Linked DNA regions of Homo sapiens: all the other regions are linked to region 2. Evidence: promoter capture Hi-C in 16 types of primary human blood cells and fetal thymus (Javierre and others, 2016). All regions are on one chromosome and are shown on one strand. Each heading gives the region's core, a stretch centred on a gene start or on the middle of the fragment in contact. The rest is flanking DNA. Distances are from core to core; before and after follow the strand shown. Region 1 overlaps CCDC39 (coiled-coil domain 39 molecular ruler complex subunit). Region 2 holds the start of DNAJC19 (DnaJ heat shock protein family (Hsp40) member C19). Region 3 overlaps TTC14 (tetratricopeptide repeat domain 14). Region 4 overlaps TTC14-DT (TTC14 divergent transcript). Region 5 holds the start of CCDC39 (coiled-coil domain 39 molecular ruler complex subunit).

Region 1 (4,167 bases), core at 1,061-3,560, 360 kb before region 2:
GCTTGAAGTTCTAAAATTCTGATTCCATTCGCTTCTAAATCAGAGATGATATATCTCTCAAAAGTCTGTCCAATATTTTCAAGTAACTTAATTGGACAGTGTCATTAAATTGCAGTCAGAACTATACTGTTTCCTTATAAAGACTAAGAGGAACTTGGAAATGAGATTTGAAAAATACTAGTCCTTCACTGGTTACTAATTATATTTTTCAGTTTGGCCTTTAAGGGTTAGATATTATAAGATACTAGAGTTGATGAAAAAGCCATGTATGCCCCATAGAACAAAGACCAAAGACAGGAGCTTACTACAAGACCAAAGACAGGAGCTATGAATTGAGCTGTGTCCCTTATAAGAAGATATGTTGATATCCCAACCTGTGGTACCCCAGAAGGTGACCTTATTTGGAAATAGGGTCTTTGCAGATATAGTCAAGTTAAATGGAGGTCATTAGGTTGGTCCTAATCTGATATAACTGGTATCCTTATTAAAATGGGAAATTTGGACAGAGGGAAAACTGTGTGAAGAGACACAGGAAGGAACACCATGTAAAGATGAAGGCAGATTTCAGGGTGATGCATTTACAAACTAAGGAACACCAAAGATTGTCAGCAGACCACCAGAAGCTAGGAGAGAGGCATAGAACAGGTTATTCTTCATAGCCTTCAGAGGAAACCAACCCTATCAACACCTTCATCTTGGACTTCTAGACTCCAGATGTATCAGATATATATTTCCTTTTTTTTGAGACGGAGTCTCACTCTGTCGCCCAGGCTAGAGTGCAGTGGTGCAATCTTGGCTCACTGCAAGCTCCGCCTCCTGGGTTCATGCCATTCTGCCTCAGCCTCCCGAGGAGCTGGGACTACAGGTGCCCACCACCACACCCGGCTAATTTTTTGTATTTTTAGTAGAGATGGGGTTTCACCATGTTAGCCAGGATGGTCTCGATCTCCTGACCTCGTGATCCACCCACCTCGGCCTCCCAAAATTCTGGGATTACAGGCGTGAGCTACTGCACCTGGCCTGAGACATATATTTCTGTTGTTTAAACCATCTAGTTTATTGTATTTTGTTACAGCAGCCCTAGAAACTAATAAAAAGGGTCAACAAGCTTTGTCTGTAAAGGGCCAAATAGTAATTAGACTTTATGGGCCATTCAGTCTGTCGAAACTACTTCATTCTGTCATTGTAGCATGTAAGCAGCCATAAACAATATATAAATGAATAAGTGTATGTATTTTGTCTTCCAGTACTTACTTACAAAACAAGTGGTGGGCAGCATTTGGCTGGAGTGCATAGTTTGCTGAGGCCTCATCCACAACATTCAGAAAACACAACAGTGGTTAGCATTGTAATCAAATTCCTATTACCCACAGCCATAAACATAATATATGTATCCATCAGGAGAGATCCCTTTGTAGATAACATAAGAAGAATAAGGGAAGGGAAAAAATTTTGAACTGACTAAATTTAAATCCTAAATCTACTACATCAACAAACAGAATCCACTACGTTGGAAAACAGACTTACATTGAAAAAACAAAACTTAACTTCTAATTGGCAAGGTTTGTCCCAGCAGTGAAAATGCCAAGGTACTATTTTCAAATAGTTAAAAATTCTTATACAAATATGAAATGAACTTTTATTAAAGGTTTTACTCAACTTGTTAATGAAGAGCCAGTAAGATATTTAGACTTATTTCAAAGAAGAATATGAAAACAGATTTTATATTATAGACATGTTGAATCAGAAATGCTGACATGAATTTGCTGGTAGATGCAAAACATATTAATATATTTTAGTGTAATAAACTTCAGTGCTTGGGTTATCTTTTCTACAGAGCAGAGTTGTATTTCTACTGGCCAAAATTCATTTACATTGTTAGCAGCAAGATATCACTTACGTTACTATCAGTTGTCTGCAAGTTAGTTATCATCTATACCTACAGAGTTGTAAAATAAACTAGTCAATAGAGAGTCGAAGGTCTGCACTCCTATAGAATCAGATAATACCTGGAGGGCCCACTAGAAAATGCCAACACCTTGGTATCACCATGCACTGGCATCATTGCACCCATGGTTTGCTTTTCTCTATTTTTCAGGCCATAATTTTTCCTGATATAAGCTAGACTGAGTTTAGTTATTATTTAAGTTTCATTTTTACACATCTGAGACTTGTGAAGTGTTACCAGTAAAAAGTGTAAACATGCTATACAACAACAACAACAAAAAATGGGAATAACTGCGTGGCAAGCTGTGGATCCCAGAGAAGATGGAAGATAAGAAATATGGCATCAGGACATTGAGAAAGTAACTGATAGCCTCAGTTCATTTAGCATAATCATTATTCTGATATTTATCCAGCACTTTCACTGTAAACAGAAGGAATATTCTTTCTTCATATAAAACTTGTCTGTGTTCCTGTGAGTTAGGTTAATCAGCATCATCACAGTAATAATAATAACTAACATTTATTGAGGACTCATTTTGTGCCAGCCACCGTCCCAAGGGCTTTACATGTATTTTCTCTTTTCTCCCAACAAAAGTAACAATATTACCCTCTTCATTTTCCAAGTGAGGAAACTTAGGCCTCACATGGTTAAGTAACTTATTCCTGGTCACCTACCGAAGCAGTGGTAGGATATGGATGAAGGCACACTTAACACCAGTACTTTTAGGTAACCCATCACACCACTTGTTAGAGAAACTTAATTGGAATTGCAACATCTTCCGATTTCCCAATACCTAAAAAATTAGAGCCTACCCTTTATCCTTCAGGAACTTTTAAAACCTGAGAGGAGAAAAGTCCTGTTTGGGCAGAAGCCTGAGGTATTACAGACTGACAAGTTATAAGAAAGTTTTGAGAGCTGGGACTGATTTCTCATAGGGAAGGCAGAATTTCAAGCAAAGTGACAGGCATACCATACTTGCTGCATTTGTTAGGGGCAGATTTGAAGAAGAGCTACAGGAGAAAATTTGGCCAATTAAGTTGGTAGAAATCAAAGGGAGAGAGCATCCACAAGAGCCATTCTCTGAAGGTGTGAACTGGAAGATGATCTCACCCCTATTCATGTATGGTACAGGGAAGTGAGTCAAAGTTACAAGTTCCATCCCTTGTTTGTAGCATTTTGAGTAATTTCCTAGACCTTTCTGTAAAGGAAATTACTCCTGTTCAGGGTATTTTCTACATGGGAAAGATGAATATAGCAGTGCTTAGAGAATAGCATTCAATTCCACATCACTTAATGAATTTCCCCTTTGGGTTAAAGATAACCATGGGATGACAGACAACTGTCAAACATCAGAAAAAAACAGATTCACCTGGTCTGTCTCCCTATAATATCATATTATAGGGATATATGGGCAGGGAAGCAGCCCTCTTCCTCTCTGAACAGCTGCCATACCAGGACTCTAATGGTAAACTGGAGTTTAAAATTCAGAGGTGGTGTAGCTCCAAGAAATGCTAAGGTCCAGCCAGGGTGTGGCATAAGAGTGGGTGGCTATAGTGAAGTAAAGGAAAGCTTTAAGCCTCAATTGTTGAACAGGTTGTCACATGCATACCAAAGACACTTAGAGTGATAATAGGTCTTAAAAAGATTACGAATCTTGCCTAGGAGAAATGACATTCTGCAAATAATAGCAAAAAGAAAAAAGTGTCAAAGAATGGTCAAGTAGAATGACCTGAACTCAAAAGAGGAAGACTTCTGGAGCAAGTTCACAGTAAGTTTTGGGAATCAGAGGGCAGTGCTTGACCTCACGGACTAGAGGTATATAGAATGAATACTGCTTTCAGTATCTCCATTTAGGAATGAATGTTTTGGCCTTTGTTAAGTGTAATAGTGGCCCTAATTAAGTGAAATAGTTGCTAGATTTCATGGAGGGAAAGTTGCAATATTGTTGTTTTTTTATTTAAATTCAGAGGATTATGATGAATGAGTTAACAAAGAAAATTTCATACCATCACAACTGTGAATCAATTAAAATTACCTTTATTACATAATAGGCCTGTGTTTTCTCCTCTTCTCCTTCAGGAGGCAGCATAACAACAGTCAGAATTTCATATCTATTCTTCAGCTTCTCAATTTTACTTAGCCGCTCGCGAAACTCAGTGCTAATAAGAAAAAGAAACACTGAGAAATGAATAACATACTTTACAATTTTTAAAGGACTA
Region 2 (4,297 bases), core at 1,626-4,125:
TAAAGGAGAGAAGGTCTTTCTTATATTTCCTCATGGCTCTACAGTGGTAGAAAAATGCTAAAAATATTAGAGATTATTTTACCTTACACCTAGTATTAATGCTGCTTCCCGTTTTGTCATTTTGGGTTCAAACCCACCTCTATAATAGCCACCACTGAAGGCCTGAAAGAAGAAATGCATTTGTAAAGAAAGGTTAATAAAATAAAGTTGCTTTAAAAAAGACGTCTGGAAATATTCACAGAACTAAGAAAAACTAAGACATTTCAGAGGACTTTTAGTGCAATTCCCGAGGTATTTTAGCTAAAGCTGAATAAAGTTTATAAATAAGTAGCAACAAGTAGTATTTTAATGATCATTAAACAGATTCATTTTTTTCCAGTCAATATGAACTATCTTAGAAATATAAGACAAAATAACAGTGTCTGAAAGCCAGGTCTTCCGGGAGTAAAGGAAAGATCATTCCAAATTAGCCATATTCTAGATAAAAATCTGCAAGAAGTGGCTCAAGAACAGAAGTCTTTTGAGACAAGAGGTTCAAGTGTATTTGAAACAAGACTTTAAGATATATATACAGAAAATACCACTATTAGGTCCTCTGACCTTGCCATGTCAGAAATCATATTGGTAAAGCCTACAATCACTCTATTCTGTTACACTTAATCACAACATATTCAACAGGTGATCACAGCCAAATCTATTCTTAACTGTGACCACAGAGAGTATGACCATAACATCAAGCCAAACCCTATAGCCTAATTAACTAGAGTGCTACCTATGTATGATGTTTGGGAGTGCCAGGGCCACATGGTCAGATCGGATCACTTTAGAATCATATACCTCTGTGTGTGCGATGCAGAGCAGATGAAGGAAAACAAGAATATGTACAGATGATGCTGAAGGTGATGGTATGTGAAAAAGTGAAACTTGGGTCTAGTGGGGTACTAGAATTGTCAAAACCCCATCCAACTCTGTCACATATAACATCTGATGTTTCAGGGTAGCACCATCACAAAGTTCAGAACTTCTATACTCTCCTTGCAGGAAGCAGGAGAATGGGTCCAAAGCAATCACTTAGAACTTCATGGATATTTGGAAATTTACCCTTCCCTAAGTGTGGCTCTAGGTTTCAAATAGAAGCAGCAAAGAATTAACAAAGTCTTACAGATTTTGGTAGGCTTTGAAAAACTTGTTTTACTTGAGGCTCCATATGCTTCATGGCTTGCAAAACGTAACGGCCTAAAACCAAAAGCAACAGAATAAGTAAACTAAATCTCCAATCTCCCCGACTTCACTTCCATCCCCAAACCATAAACAAACCTGCAAATCCTGCAGCAGCAATGGTCAGTCCAACTGCTACCACTGTACTGGCCTGGTAAGGGGGAGAAGAGTAAATATTTACTTCTCTAATTCCCACCCTTTCTCATTTTGCCCATTCTTCCATCCCCAACTCATTACAAACTGCATTTTAATAGGAGAAACAACTTTTTTTTTTCTTTTTTTTTTTTTTTTTTTAAGAGACGGAGTCTTGCTATGTTGCTTAGGCTGGTCTTGAACTCCTGGCCTCAAGCAATCCTCCCACCTTGGCCTCCCAAAGTGCTAAGATTATAGGCATAAGCCACCATGCCTGGCAGAGAAACAACTTTTAAGGCGGAAATATTCTGTCCAGTAATCTTTAAAACTACTGCATCTGTTATGCTGAATGCATTAAAGTTACAGGATTCATCATATGGGAAAGAGGGCAAGTTCGACTTGCTTATTTATCTTTACAATAGTGAAAAAGATGATTCCCTCCCTTTGAAAACTTCTTTCATCACCAGACAAATTAAGTCACATTAAAGTTCAATCAAAAGTAGTGGAAATAGGCCAGGCGCGGTGGCTCACGCCTGTAATTCCAGCATTTTGGGAGGCGAGGCGGGCGTATCACTAGGTCGGGAGATCGAGACCATCCTGGCTACCATGGTGAAACCCCGTCTCTACTAAAAATACAAAAAAAAAAAAAATTAGCTGGGCGTGGTGGTGGGCGCCTGTAATCCCAGCTACTTGGGAGGCTGAGGCAGGAGAATGGCGAACCCGGGAGGCGGAGCTTGTAGTGAGCCAAGATTGTGCCACTGCACTCCAGCCTAGGCGACCGAGCAAGACTCTGTCTCAAAAAAAAAAAAAAAAATGTGGAAATAAGGTTTCTGCTACAGAAGGAAAAACTGTTTACAGACGGCTCCTGTAAAATTCTAACAACGCATTTTCGAGGCTAAACGTGGGCTAAACTAGGAGACTAATACCTTTGGCACTGCCCTGTTGTTTCCTAACAAGACAGGCCCAAATATGTTCAGGAAGCATGGAGAAGACATCTGTCAGCAAAAGCCAAAGAGAAGGACATAGCAAAGTGGAGCTAGTGCTGTGAAGATGTGTTAGGGCAAGGGCACTTATAATCAAATACGTTTCCACTAATCTCCGAGTCCATGACAGCCTCTGACCTTACAGGAGTTCCAGGCAAGCAACACCTGCAGAGCCCGTGCGGACAAGAAGCTGGAGAACCGTGCAGAAAGACGATGTAAAAACACAAACCCCCAAGAGAGCGAGCCAACAGGGTTGTGTCCTGGTGAGTGTGACTCCCCAATAACCGAAACCTCCCGCCCGCAGTCGCACTAAGGAGCACAACTTCAACTCCACACCTCCGAGGCGGGGAGCTGAGGTTGAGGCCTGGGCCGGAGGTCGCCAAGAAGACCGGAAGGCCGCACTCACCATGGCTCCGGCTGGGCTCCCTTGCTTCCACCGGGAGCACGGCTCATCCCAGCTCAGAGGCCGCGGCCAACACCTGCACGCCTTTACCAGAGAGCGACGCAACCCCCAACCTCAAGCACAGGCGCCCTACGCAACACGGCAGGAGCAGCCGCAAACTAGGCCGGAAAACTGTCGTAAAAGGGGACGCGGAGGAGAAGGAAAGTCGCTCAAGCAGTGGACAGAGCGGAGAAAGCGACTTCGGGTTGGTTGAAGGGTGGGCGGATCTCTTTATTTCTGGGTGTAGGGGTGGGGCTTCTCTGTGTTTTCTGTCCTTTGCTCCTGGGCGGTGGGTATTTGGAAATTCTTGCAGGGAAGGGCATGGGCAGCCTTACTCAGACCGATTTTTTCCCCCTACATCTTAGCACCTCGTTTTGCCTTTATTTTATGTTAATAATTGTCAAGGGTAATGAATGTAGTTAAACATGCTGTGACATTTCCACCACGAACCCAAACAAATATGTTGTAACCCAGTGTAGGAAACGAGATGCCCAGAAAAACAAATGAAACCAACCACACTGTGTTTCAGGGATTGCTCGGTAGCATTTTTTAATGTAAAAGAACTTCATTTAAGGATGTGACTTGACAAGACTTTGTGAATATTTGGGTTTTCGTTTTGTAGAATGGGATTAAAGACAGTTCATATTCTGAACATGGAATGTCAAGATCCTACAACTGAAAAGGGCTATTTAAAAGTTTTCCTCCTCACCCAAAATAAAAAGTAGGGCTGGATTTTGCCCTTACGTGGACATCAGTTTCATACATCCCTACATAAATGCTTGAGAAGAAAAAAATAATGGAGACAATAATGGAATTTTACAATGCAACGTTTGCATGATCAAAATAAGTTTGGAGTTACTTCCCACTCAGAATTTACAGTGTTAAATATCCGTTTACATTGCAATGCAATTCTGCTTTGATGAGTTTGTTAGTTATTAAACAAATATGCAAAATTTTTGGGTTTGTTTTCCTCATCTGTAAAAGCAGTTTGCATTTGATAATCCAAGAGCTCTTCTAGCGCTAAGGTTTTTGTGATGTAATTTATTGTCAACACATGATTTAAGGTGACATCCAGCACTAAGACACTAGCATTAAGTTTATAACTTCCTCTTTTGCCTCTCTTTTATCTGGTTTTTACCCAACAATTACAAAATAAATAATCAAGTGAGGCATAAGACCTTGGGACCAAATTGGCATCAACAAGCTAGAATGCTATCTGGAAAAATTTATTATGCATATTTTTGGTATGTACAAACTGTGTAATGCAGTTTCTGGAGGAATAGATTTACAGTAGACTCTAATTAGCTTTGAGACTTTACAAAACCCAGACTCAGGAAATTGGGAGTAGCAACACAGCAAGACATTTTGTTGAGCTGGAGATAGCTCTTTTTTTGGTGGCAGATCAAACTGGAGGTAACCTGGCTCTGTCACTTACTAATACTGTGACTTGGAAAAGTTATTTCTGATTGAGTTTCTTCCTCATTTGTAAAATGAAGGTAATGATAACTACCTTGCCGAGTTT
Region 3 (3,984 bases), core at 1,308-3,807, 380 kb before region 2:
TTACATACTTACTAGGTGGATAACTAGTAACTACTTATATGTGGTTGTCTTATAGCCTTGTATTGATGTCTTTGAGCTGAGTGAATAGCAATACCCTGTAGTTACCTAAGCCAGAGATACTGTTCATCTTTGACTTGTCCTTTGTTTCCCATATCCAGTCTACTGACACAAAAGTGATCCCATTGTATTTGTTTTATAGTAATTTCTTTTTCCTTCTAAGAACCCAAAGCACTTTGCAACATCTTTTGACTGCTTTATGTCCAAACTTTCTCATTCTGGTGTTTCACAACCCAGACTTGTGAAATTCATCTAATGATTATGCTATTTACAGGCTCATTGTGATATATGTGTATGTTGGTATTTCCAAAGATTTCCAAAATTTTCTGTAGATAATTTTTCATAAACTACTAGGGAAAAAAGCCTGCTGGTATAATTCTGTGCTAAAATTCAAGATCATACTAAATTTGTGGACACCCATTTATCATGGGTTTTTGTGTATTACTGCAAAAATGTGCCAATATTGGACATATACCTTTAGTTACTAGTAAGATTTCTGTTTATGTGGTCTATGAAATAAATTACAGTAAAAAGCATATTATTTTGGTATTTTATTTTGGAAAATAATTTACTTGGCTTTTCCCTAATAAGCTCTCTCATATAAGCCTTTGACCTGTATGCATATTTGGATAGTTTTGTTGTTTTTACAAAAAAGCTAAATCTTTCTTTCAAATTTAGGTTAGAAGAAGAAGAAAAGTTTTTAAATGCTGAAAGTTACTATAAGAAAGCTTTGGCTTTGGATGAGACTTTTAAAGATGCAGAGGATGCTTTGCAGAAACTTCATAAATATATGCAGGTGATTCCTTATTTCCTCTTAGAAATTTAGTGATATTTGAAATAATGCCCAAACTTAATTTTCTCCTGAGGAAAACTATTCTACATTACTTAAGTAAGGCATTATGAAAAGTTTCTTTTTAGGTATAGTTTTTCCTAATTGGGTTTGACATTGCTTCATAGTGCCTCTGTTTTTGTCCATAATCGAAAGTAAAGATAGCTGTGAGAAAACTATTACCTAAATTTGGTATGTTGTTTTGAGAAATGTCCTTATAGGGAGCTCACCTGGTGGTTTTTAAATTATTGTTGCTACTATAATTGAGCTAATTATAAAAACCTTTTTGAGACATATTTTAAATTGTCTTTTCCTGTAATACTGATGATGATGTTTTCTCATGCATTTTCTTCTGAATTGGACCATTGCTGCTGTGTCTGTGACATCTGGTGCTGCTCATCCCCATCCACAAACTGGAAAATGATTTCCTATGTAATCATGCATCCAACTGGGCTGTGCTATTTTTTTAAATGGTTTGTATTTGAACATGGTGATTCCTCCTTCACTTCACCTTAACGGAATGTCTTTATTTGAATTTTATTTGTAAAATGTGTCCTGTTTAAATTTTTCAATCTTTAAAAATAATTTTTATGTACTTTTTTTTTTTTTTTAACCTTTCTTGCACTCTGGGTCATGGGTACCACTGCAATGGCTTCCCCTTTTTTTATGGGATACCAACTGCAATATGGTCCTCAATGCTGTTCTGGCCATTTCAATGACTAATGCCAAACATCTGTATGACTAATTTTTTTATGTTAAAAAAATACTGTTTAATGCTGGCTCTATGGTGATTTGGTTTTACTAAATTGGGTTTCTCGTTGGGGGTGGTCTTTTGAATACTGGGTTTTATATATTCTGCTATTTTTAACGTGTGGTTTTTTTCGATATCTGGGTTCTAAAAGAAATCTTTGGAATTAAGAGAAAAACAAGCTGAAAAGGAAGAAAAGCAGAAAACAAAGAAAATAGAAACAAGTGCAGAAAAGTTGCGTAAGCTCTTAAAAGAAGAGAAGAGGTAAACTATAATATTCAGTATTTTTAAACTTAAGGCAACTACTGAATTGAACCCAAAGTGCCATACTGGAGGTAAAGTAAATAAAAATATGAAAGTATTTCAAGTGCCAATCAGTGACTGTTAAGAATCTTTAGCAAATATGTGTTCCATGTATTTTCTTATTAAAGAGATGAAGTGGAATTTAAGGCTAGAATTCTACAAAAAAAGAGTATCTTAGAATTAAAATATAGAATAAGTTACTTTAATTATGTTTTAGGAAGAAATATTTTAGAACTAGAGCAGTGGTTCTCAACTAGGGGTGGATTTATTCACCCGGGGACATTTGACAAGATGTGGAGACATTTTTGATTGCCATAACTGATAGGGTGCTACTGCATCTAGTGTATAATGGTCAGGGATGCTCTTAAACATTCTGTAATGCACAGGTCAGCTCCCACCCGCACCCCCACCCCCTACCAAGAATTATTTGGCTGAAAATACCAATAATCAGGTGAAGAAACCATGAACTAGAGGTAGCCAAATAAAAAAGTTGAGTTCTCCTTTATGTGTTCAGTAGTCTTAAGTTTTTAAGGTAGTGTTGAAAAAAGTCTGTCTTTCAGAGATGATGGATTTGCTTACAATGATACCTGTCTGCAAGCATTTTTTCCCCCAAAAGTGCTTAATAGTAAAATTAGATCTTGTAGTAGCCGAGATTATTGTATCATTTATCTGAACCACAGCTTTTATAAAATCTTTAAAGGAAACAAATAGGGCCCACATCTTTATGAATAATTTAGAAACATTTTTGTATATATATGACAAATGAACTGTTTTTTTTAGGCTAAAGAAGAAAAGAAGAAAATCAACTTCTTCTTCAAGTGTTTCTTCTGCTGATGAATCAGTGTCTTCATCATCATCCTCTTCCTCTTCTGGTCACAAAAGGCATAAGAAACATAAGAGGAACCGTTCAGAGTCTTCTCGCAGTTCCAGAAGGCATTCATCTAGGGCATCCTCAAATCAGATAGATCAGAATAGGAAAGATGAGTGCTACCCAGTTCCAGCTAATACTTCAGCATCTTTTCTTAACCATAAACAAGAAGTGGAGAAACTACTGGGGAAGCAGGATAGGTTACAGTATGAAAAGACACAGATAAAAGAGAAAGATAGATGCCCTCTCTCTTCATCTTCACTTGAAATACCGGATGATTTTGGAGGTAGGTCTGAAGATCCAAGAGATTTTTATAACAGCTATAAAACCCAAGCAGGTAGTAGCAAAACAGAAAAGCCATATAAATCAGAAAGACATTTTTCCAGTAGAAGAAATTCCTCAGATTCCTTCTGTAGGAATTCAGAGGACAAGATTTATGGTTATAGGAGATTTGAAAAGGATATAGAGGGAAGAAAAGAGCACTATAGAAGGTGGGAACCAGGTTCTGTGAGGCATTCTACCTCACCAGCAAGCTCAGAATACTCTTGGAAGTCAGTTGAGAAATACAAAAAATACGCTCACTCTGGATCACGTGATTTCAGTAGACATGAGCAAAGATACCGTTTAAATACAAATCAAGGAGAATATGAAAGAGAGGACAATTATGGGGAGGATATCAAAACAGAGGTTCCAGAAGAAGATGCACTAAGTAGCAAAGAACACTCAGAAAGCAGTGTTAAGAAAAATTTACCTCAGAATTTACTGAATATATTTAATCAGATAGCTGAATTTGAAAAAGAAAAAGGAAATAAGTCAAAAAATTAATACACCAAGGATATCGGCACCATTACACAAAATGCCATTAAGTGAAGTTTTTGGTTGTATTAGTCATAACAGTTGAGTGCAGAAATCTCTGCTTCTAAAATTATTTGTAGAGATTACAGGAAACAAATGCTTTTAAGTAAGTTTTTCTCAAATTTTGTTTCAGTTCTAGGTCCCTTGTCACAGCTTGGTTTTTAGACTTTTTATGTATATGTTTATGTACAGTATATTACTCTTGACAGTTTGAATTTCTTCACCTAAAGATAATTCTCTGAAAGTACTGTTTCTTCATTCTATTGCGGTATATGAGAATTCCTGGGTGCATCTTATTCTGCTGTTTGAGAGAAAAATTTGTGC
Region 4 (4,458 bases), core at 740-3,239, 400 kb before region 2:
AAATATTTTAATTATACAGATATAGTCAAGGTGATGATATTTATTATTGTGAAATTATACTATTTTATTGTGAATTTTTTTCTTCCCTACATCTTTAAATCATAAAAGGGTACTAGATATTTTATTCTGTGGAGCTGATGGAAGCTATAAAAAACAGAATACTTTTCCTTTCATATCCAAGTCCATAGGTTTAGAATTAAGGAACATTTCTCAGGATGAAAGCAAAACATCAGCAATAACCACTCACACTATCTTTTTTCAACTGGGATTTTTCTATGATTTGTTCATTACTGAATTCCCAGCACCTACAGCTATTTGGAACAAGGAGATAGTCAAATAAACGTTAGGTGAATTTCTGAGTTACAATTCTCATATTGATGCTTGTCACTACGATTCCAATGAAAATGGATACAATAAATTCTGGATTATTGGCTAATAAAAAGTCTCAGGAAAAAAATAATAAAAACATAGCCAAACAACTTTCCTAACATAACGGTGTTTCTTTTGTTTGTTAGAAGTGAAATGTGGCCACAGAAATAGACATGAAATGGGTAACAGCAAAAATCTAGGCTGCCACAATTAGGAATGATCTTCGATAGCTCAGAAAAGGAAGTCACCTGGAGTCAATGACCCATGCAAAATCAGTCATCGCATGACCCCAAATTTTTTACTCAGTGCTCAACACATAAATTATTTTTCAGAAACCACCATGGAGGATAAGGAATATCTTTAAGTTCTAGAACTTGAAAGTGGAAAAATAAAAAAGCATTATAAGCTTAGAAATTTTGTTGATAAAGGCCTTTAAATGAACTTAAAGCAATTTTACACCAAAAGACTATGAAATCTCTACCATTCATATTATAACTCTGATGTAAGAAATGATGATGCAACTCAGATATTGGCTGTGTATTAAGTGTGAAACCCAGTAGATTAAACAAGGCAGTATTTCTATACATTCCTAGTTACTTCAGCTGTTCCTCAAATCATGTGATTTCCAGCTGCTTCACCATCATGGGGTTGTAATGCTTTAAATAGGCTTCATTGTCTTAAAATATGGCATTGAAGTAGGACATAATTGCAATGGTTAATTATATGTCAACTTGGCTGGGCCACGGTGCCCAGATATGTAGTCACACATTATTCTAAATGTTCTGTGAGGGTGTTTAGGGGGTGAGATTAACAATTAAATTGATGAACTTTGAGTAAAGCACATTGCCCTCCATCATCTGGGTAAGGCCTCATCCAGCTAGCTGAAGACCTGAATAGAACAAAAGATTGACCTCCACCAAGAAAGAGGGCCATCTACCAGCAGATAGCCTTCAGACTTAAACTGCAGCATTAGCTTTTCCTTGGTCTCCAGCTTGCCAACCTACTCTGTATGTTTTGATTTGTCAGCCTCCTAAATCACGAGCCAATTCCTTAAAATAAATTTCCTTCTAAATATACATATACCCATCGTATTGGTTCTGTTTCCCTGAAGAACCATAATACAAGAAGTATGCAGATATTTGTCCCATAAGCATGGACTACCACAGAGAGACTATTCCTAGTCACAGATACCAATTTTCCCCACTGGGTCACCACCACCAGGATGTGACTGCTGAAGGCCGTGCACACCACCTGGGTGGGGACCCCACACACCACCTCTGTCTTCTGTTTTGATATCACCAACGGCGTGTCTTCCATGGTGGGGCTCTTCAGTGGCAGCTTTAATTTAGGTTAAAAAGAAAGGGGGAAAAAAGGAGTCAAACAGTACAGCCTTGGGGCTCCCAAAAAAGTAGCACCAGGCATTGAAACAGAAACGCAAGGAGGCCCATTCAAAAGAGGCCAGGCGCAGTGGCTCATGCCTGTCATCCCAGCACTTCAGGAGGCTGATACAGGACAATCGCTTGAGGCCGGGAGTTTGAGACCAGCCTGGCCAACATAGCAAGACACCCCCCATCTCTACCAAAAAAAATACAAAAAAAATTAAAAATCAGCCAGGTGCACCTGTGGTCCCAGTTACTCAGGAGGCTGAGGGGGGAGGATCACTTCAGCCCGGGAGGTCGAGGCTGCAGTGAGCTGTGATTACACCACTGCACTCCAGCCCGGGTGGCAGAGCGAGACCCTGTCCCGAAAAAATAAAACAGGAGCAGGGCCGCCCGTACAGACCACACCTGGGGCTTTCTGGGTTAGGGGATCGACTTGCACGTTCACACTGCCAGGCTGGGCGGTGACTTCCTGCCCCTCGGCCTCACCGGTGCCCCGGCCCTGCAGCGGAGGGCCTAGGACCCCCACAGCACGCGGTGCCAAGGCTACGTGGGCTACGGAGGACGCAGTGGTCTGGGGAGGCCCGCGGGTACCCCCGCTTACCAAGCCAGCCGGCATCAGATTCTTATAGGAGTGAATACCCTACTGTGAACTGCACAGGCAAGGGATCTAGGTTGCATGCTCCTTATGAGAATCTAATGCCTGATAATCTGTCACTGTCTCCCATCATCCCCAGAGGGGACCATCTAGCTGCAGGAAAATAAGCTCAGGGCTCCTACTGATTCCACATTATGGTGAGTTGTATAATTATTTCACTGTATATTACAATGTAATAGTAATAGAAAAAAGAGCACAATAAATGTAATGCACTTGAATCATCCCAAAACCATCCCCACTGCCCCAGTCCATGGAAAAATTGTCTTCCATAAAATCGGTCCCTGGTGCCAAAAAGGTTAGGGATTGCTGACTTAAAGGTAACCTCTCCAGCCATCATTTGCTGTGTATGAGGGAGAGGGGGCTGGAAACAAAAAGGAAAATATATTACTTGGTTGAGTTCTCAGTATCTTCCTGTCTATTTTATATATTGGGCTTCCATCTTAAGAAAGTTAAAACAAAATTGAAAGCAGTTTTCAAACATATACACACATAGCAGCAGTCATATTCTCAATATATTTGCTATTATTCAGTTACATATTTACATATGCATACATGTATATTTTATATATTATATACGTGTGTATGTGTGTGTGTGTGTGTGTGTGTGTGTGTGTGTGTGTATAAAGAAAGAGAGATTAAAGGGAGAAAGAAAAGGATGACAGGTAAGCAGAGTTTTTTATGTCTTAGAAGAAATACACATGCAGAGGAAATGAATGCATAAGATTACATAGTTTGATGAAATTAGTCATTAAAAAATACCCAACAGGCTGTTTTTGTTCTTATTTTGGGCTCACAAACAAGCTTCTGACTGAAGTTGGCTTTCCACCGGAGAATATATTGATACTTCTACGAGTTTCTGATTCACATAACATTTACAGTTCATCCTTAATACATTGTCAACGTGATTTCTAAATCAGTGTTTAATTTGGTTAGTGTGTATCAGTATGTCGAGCTTACAGTTCACCCTTAATACATTGTCAGCGTGATTTCTAAATCAGTGTTTAATTTGGTTAGTGTGTATCAGTATGTCGAGCTTACAGTTCACCCTTAATACATTGTCAACGTGATTTCTAAATCAGTGTTTAATTTGGTTAGTGTGTATCAGTATGTCGAGCTTACAGTTCACCCTTAATACATTGTCAACGTGATTTCTAAATCAGTGTTTAATTTGGTTGGTGTGTATCAGTATGTCGAGCTTACACTTCACCCTTAATACACTGTCAACGTGATTTCTAAATCAGTGTTTAAGTTGGTTAGTGTGTATCAGTATGTCGAGCTTACAGTTCACCCTTAATACATTGTCAACGTGATTTCTAAATCAGTGTTTAATTTGGTTAGTGTGTATCAGTATGTCAAGCTTACAGTTCACCCTTAATACATTGTCAACTTGATTTCTAAATCAGTGTTTAATTTGGTTAGTGTGTATCAGTATGTCGAGCCTTACTTGAATTTCTGCACTTGAAAAACTAAGGATCAGTGTCCAGAACTCAATCTACCTGATGGAACTGCCACACTGAGACTTCCAAACAGTGATCAGCCAATCTCCCCCTGTGACTTCTGTGGCTGGTCCCTTTTCTAACTACAACTAAAGGAACTGTAAAGAATCTCATTCATTTAAAGAGACCAGCCACAGTAGGAAGCCACACTTACCAGTACTGCAATACAATAGGAAAATAACTTCATACAGATTTCATAGAAAAAGAAGCACACTGACTTAAAGAGAGACATGCAGTTTTAGCACCTGAACTGTTCATCATAGAACAATGAATGTTAAGGGTTAGATCTCAAAGTTCATCTCATCCAATCCCTTAGTTTTAAAGGTGGCAAGAGAGGCATGGAAGATTAGATTATTTACTCAAAATACAGCTGGGACTTCTGGGCTAAGCTCTTTCCACTATGATAACTCCCTATTTCATAATTGCGCACATTCTTTTTTTTTTTTTTTTTTTTTTTTTTTTTTGAGACAGAGTCTCGCTCTGGTTGCCCAGGCTGGAGTGCAACGGCGCGATCTCAACTCATCGCAATCTCTGCCTCCTGGGTTCAAGCGATTCT
Region 5 (4,126 bases), core at 1,256-3,755, 310 kb before region 2:
TGGGGCCTGTTGTGGGGTGTGGGCAGCGGGGAGGGATAGCATTAGGAGATATACCTAATGTAAATGATGAGTTAATGGGTGCAGCACACCAACATGGCACATGTATACATATGTAACAAACCTGCACGTTGTGCACATGTACCCTAAAACTTAAAGTATTATAATAATAATAATAATAATAATTTTATATATATATATATATATATATATATATATATATATATATATATATAAAATCACAGTACTATGGGCCCTTCTTGCAACAATCATTTGAGGATAAAATCCAGCCAGCCAAAAGACAAATCAAAATGAAAAGTTCAAGAAAGATAAACTGAATAAAAGTGACTGCGGTAAGGACCATTAAAGCAAATCAAGTATAAAACTAACACTAAACACTTGTGATAAATTAAGGGCATTGAATCAAATGCAAATAAAACTTGATAATATTAAAAATGATAAAACCATTATTTTTAATAGGGGAAAAGGAGGTGGGAAAATGTGTAAGAGTGCTAACTTATTCTTTAAAATCAGAGACATTCAGTAATCTATATTTGAAATATAGAGTTCTTAGAAACATTAACCATTTAATTTTTTCTTAACTTAGAGGAATTTTTTTAGCAATCAGCACCTCTTGTGATCAAGTAATATTTACCTGAAATTCAACAACTGCTTTTTCTTCTCTCAAATACTAAAATAAATATTTTGTGTTAAATACCGCATATATATAATTCCATTATAATACTCATTTTTCTCTTCTTTCTGTATATCTGTATACCAAGATGTCTGAAATGTGTGTTTAATGCCATGGTAATCATTTCTACAGTACAGTGGACACTTTGGAGAGGAAATACCTTATGTTTTTATCTCATACCCTTCTATTCTGTTTGAATATCTTAAATTTACAGGAGTTGCTTTTTAAATGTCAGAGTTTAAAAAGCAATTTAATTTAATGCAATTGTGGTGCTCATTTTTCTTCTTTATATGGCTCTATACTTTTTTAAAAGAGCTAATATACTTAATATGTACATAAAAATCCTGTGTGACACATATTATGGCAAGAATACTAAAACCTAAAATTTGGATGGAACCTTAACCCATATTATGTCCCTAGAGCCCGCGAAGTAATTAGTTTGTTCATCTCCATCTCCGCTTTACAAAAAAAGAAGCAGGATTAGGGTTGGTAAGTAGGATCTGAACCCAGGGCTGGATACTTAGTATTAATTCCTCGGTACTCAGTGCTAGATCCCTTACATTTCCTAATATTGCCCTCCTTTGGGGAAAAATTGCAGTCTTCTAAATTACACATGAGTAAATAGGTCAGAACGTGTTAAAAAGCATTTCCATTGTTTTCAAAAGGTAGAGTAACAGGATTTTCATTTTCCTTTTTTAGAGCTGAGAAAACTTTCTGTTCCGTTTTACAAAGTTGTGTAAGCATCATCTGTTATTCTTGGACCTTCTTCTACACAACATATCACCACCAAAGTTTTTCAAAATTTGCTGACCCGGTTGCAATTTTTTATTTTTTTATTTTTTCGTAGAGACGCGGTGGGAGGGGTTTGTGGGGGGTCTCGCTTTGTTGTTCAAGCTTGTTTTACTCCTGGCTTTTAGGGTTCCTCCGCCTCAGCCTCCCAAAGTGCTGGGATTACAGGTGTGAGCCACTGCGCCCGGCCTGCAATTTTTTTTTTTTTAACAACTGCTATGAATTGTAGTTAGTGTAAGTTCGTCCTTGCAACGTAAAATTTCTTATGTTAATCTGTGACAACTCAATCTTCTCTTTGAAAAACTGTAAACCGCACATTTCATTCTTACCGGGCTGTTCCTCTTGAAAACATCTCAAGTCACTTTCAGCTTTAAACATTACAGACAAAAACTCACAAAGAAATATGAACCTTCTGGAGTTTAATTTATAAACGTGCGCAAATAACCGTTGCTATGCAAACCTCAGAAATTCTTTTCCAAGTAGCTCTTTAATTTTTGAGCAAGGAAAAAGCGGGCGCCGGAACCAGCCTTTCCTCTCTCGCCAGGAGGAACGAAATAAGTAAGAGGAGTGGGCATGAGGAAGGGAGTAATAATTCGAGCTTTATAACCCTAAATGTCAATTATGGTTTTAATAGCATTTTTAAATGCTTAACAATTACTGAAATAGGCAGAGAGGGTAAGGGAGGAGGGCGATGGTGCGGGGGAGTGTTAGAGGAAGCACAGGATTAGGAAAGGAGAGAAATAAAAGGGCTGGGGTAGTACTGCCAACCAGAAAACGCCCCCAACAGGCTCTCTCTGCTTCCTCCCGCCTGCTTCAATTGATCTCACCTGATCTTCCAGTAGCTTGTTCTCCTCGTTCGCCACCGGGATGGCGAACCCATCCTCCCAGTGCAGCTCAGCCAGGAATTCGCTACTCATGACTGCAAACGGATAGAGAAGATACAGAGCAAAGATCCGCCTTCTTGTACAGCGGGTGAGCAGCACCCGCGTCAAGCCCAGGCACCTGCACAGTGCCGCGGCAATTGCCGGGGGAGCCCTAGCAACCTTCCCGCGTCCTTAGTTACCAAACAGGAAACGCTCCAGCCCGAAGGCGAAACTTCCGGTTGAGAACTCCCTGCCTGCAGGCCGAAGAATCTTTTTCTTACCTTGAGCACTGAGGGATGAGCAGCAACTTGCCCCTCCCGACGTTCCCGGGGGTTGCCAGGCGGCAGCGTAACTTTCCACGAAAAGGCGGCTCTCGGATCGCTCCCGGAGCGTGTGAAAACTGTGGCCCCCGGAGCTGGCTGGAGGACCACGGGGCAGCTGGCTGGAAGTAAACCACACGATCCTCCGATTGCCTGGGGGAAGACGGGAGCCAACAGGGATTATAAACTAAGTTTCTTTTCAAGGTGTGTTTGCTGTGTTGTGTAGATTTCAGCTACTACAGTAGGTGAAAGTAGACCGAAGTGAACTGGTGTTTGGAAACAACTCTCTCTCTGGCATCACTGGGATGTTCTGATCGTCGCCTGTTTCAGTCGGCCAGCCTTCCTCACCGCACTCACCGGCCCCATCGCGGATGTCCCAGTCGATCACAGACGCGGACCGCGCGGAGGCCGCACACTTGTGGCGCGGTGTGGTGGTCCCTCCGGCACCACTCCCATACTTGCATTTTTCTTTGCATTTTTGTTTGCTAACATTTAAAGTGTGGAATTTCGCATAAACGTCTGTATTTCCTCTGCTTGAAAAAGGGTAGGTGACACAATCCCCATTATCAAAAGGCAATGTTCCGCTGGAGAGGCGCCCCCTTTAGACCAACAAAGCACTTTACCAGTTCACTAATTTGAATTACCTGCTTGGCACGGGTAGGCATTTGAGTTATAGTCTCTCTTGTATAGTATCTCAGAACTGGAAAGGACAAAACAATCAACTAATCTAATCCTTTCATTTTCTCGGTAAGTTAAACCGAGGCTCCTTGAGGCAAAGTGATTAAAGAAGGGATGCTGTGCATGAATTAATTTTACGTATCCAATAATCATCTGTAATTTTTTTTGCTCTTTCGAATTTTATTTTACCTAGACATTGTTAAACTTTTATTATAAATATTTTAAATGTATATGGGAATAGAAAGCAGAGTATAAATAACTGCTATATATGCATCACCTTGATTTAGCATTCATATTTTGCCATGTTAGCATCATCTGTATCTTTTGCTCAAGTGAAAAAATAATCATAGACATCATGACATTACAGCCCTAAATACATGAGCATGTATTGGTAGAAGAGTGGTTAATGTTATCTAACATAAGCACAATATCATTATCACACCTATAAAAATCAACTATTCTTCAATATCATCTAATAACCATTTCAGATTCATATTTCGACTGTCCTAAAAATGTCTTTTTACAGTCGATTTGTTTGTCACTATAGTTCTGAAATCCTCCTGTAGGAGCTTTGTCTCTTTGTGCCTACATTGTTTTCCATAAACTTAATCTTGTGGACTTAGTGCCTTTAAAGACTAGAATTAGCAAAGCATTTTATTCCCCCTTTCTACAATGATTAAAGGCTGGGGAGAAAGGCTCAACTTGTAGAAGAAATTTGACCTGCATGTAATAGTGGAATTTTAGATATAATGACATTTAATCCTTTATAAATGATCATTACTTAT

The links. Contacts are between HindIII fragments. The CHiCAGO score rates a contact against its expected background, and 5 or more counts as called.
Region 1: a contact is called between a fragment that was not itself captured here and the fragment with the promoter of DNAJC19 in region 2, in 3 of 17 cell types (total CD8 T cells, naive CD4 T cells and non-activated CD4 T cells). The highest score is 7.9, in total CD8 T cells.
Region 3: a fragment that was not itself captured here is called in contact with the fragment with the promoter of DNAJC19 in region 2 in 5 of 17 cell types (naive CD8 T cells, total CD8 T cells, non-activated CD4 T cells and 2 more); the score reaches 10.9 in naive CD8 T cells.
Region 4: a fragment that was not itself captured here is called in contact with the fragment with the promoter of DNAJC19 in region 2 in 2 of 17 cell types (total B cells and non-activated CD4 T cells); the score reaches 7.0 in total B cells.
Region 5: the fragment with the promoter of CCDC39 here is called in contact with the fragment with the promoter of DNAJC19 in region 2 in 1 of 17 cell types (naive CD8 T cells); the score reaches 6.6 in naive CD8 T cells.

The regions. Positions count from the first base shown.
Region 1 is chr3:180,627,486-180,631,652 of GRCh38, forward strand. It overlaps CCDC39 (coiled-coil domain 39 molecular ruler complex subunit), which reads right to left. Exons shown (of 20, transcript NM_181426.2): 14 at 3,984-4,107. Among named protein-coding and RNA genes, the nearest start is that of TTC14, 27 kb to the left of the region's middle. The HindIII fragment of the contact is 2,409 bases long and covers 1,107-3,515 here.
Region 2 is chr3:180,986,861-180,991,157 of GRCh38, forward strand. DNAJC19 (DnaJ heat shock protein family (Hsp40) member C19) reads right to left here and starts at 2,876. Exons shown (of 6, transcript NM_145261.4): 1 at 2,740-2,876; 2 at 1,318-1,369; 3 at 1,163-1,236; 4 at 83-162. The coding sequence starts at 2,742. The HindIII fragment of the contact is 8,604 bases long and covers 1-4,297 here.
Region 3 is chr3:180,606,913-180,610,896 of GRCh38, forward strand. It overlaps TTC14 (tetratricopeptide repeat domain 14), which reads left to right. Exons shown (of 12, transcript NM_133462.4): 10 at 736-853; 11 at 1,789-1,898; 12 at 2,718-3,984. The coding sequence ends at 3,630. Among named protein-coding and RNA genes, the nearest start is that of TTC14, 6.7 kb to the left of the region's middle. The HindIII fragment of the contact is 3,548 bases long and covers 784-3,984 here.
Region 4 is chr3:180,588,358-180,592,815 of GRCh38, forward strand. All of the region lies in intron 1 of TTC14-DT (TTC14 divergent transcript), which reads right to left. Among named protein-coding and RNA genes, the nearest start is that of TTC14-DT, 12 kb to the right of the region's middle. The HindIII fragment of the contact is 2,432 bases long and covers 774-3,205 here.
Region 5 is chr3:180,676,984-180,681,109 of GRCh38, forward strand. It overlaps CCDC39 (coiled-coil domain 39 molecular ruler complex subunit), which reads right to left and starts at 2,506. Exons shown (of 20, transcript NM_181426.2): 1 at 2,308-2,506. The coding sequence starts at 2,397. CCDC39-AS1 (CCDC39 antisense RNA 1) reads left to right here and starts at 3,098. Exons shown (of 2, transcript NR_046725.1): 1 at 3,098-3,207. RefSeq lists enhancers at 2,778-2,877, 2,958-3,007. The HindIII fragment of the contact is 3,343 bases long and covers 1,584-4,126 here.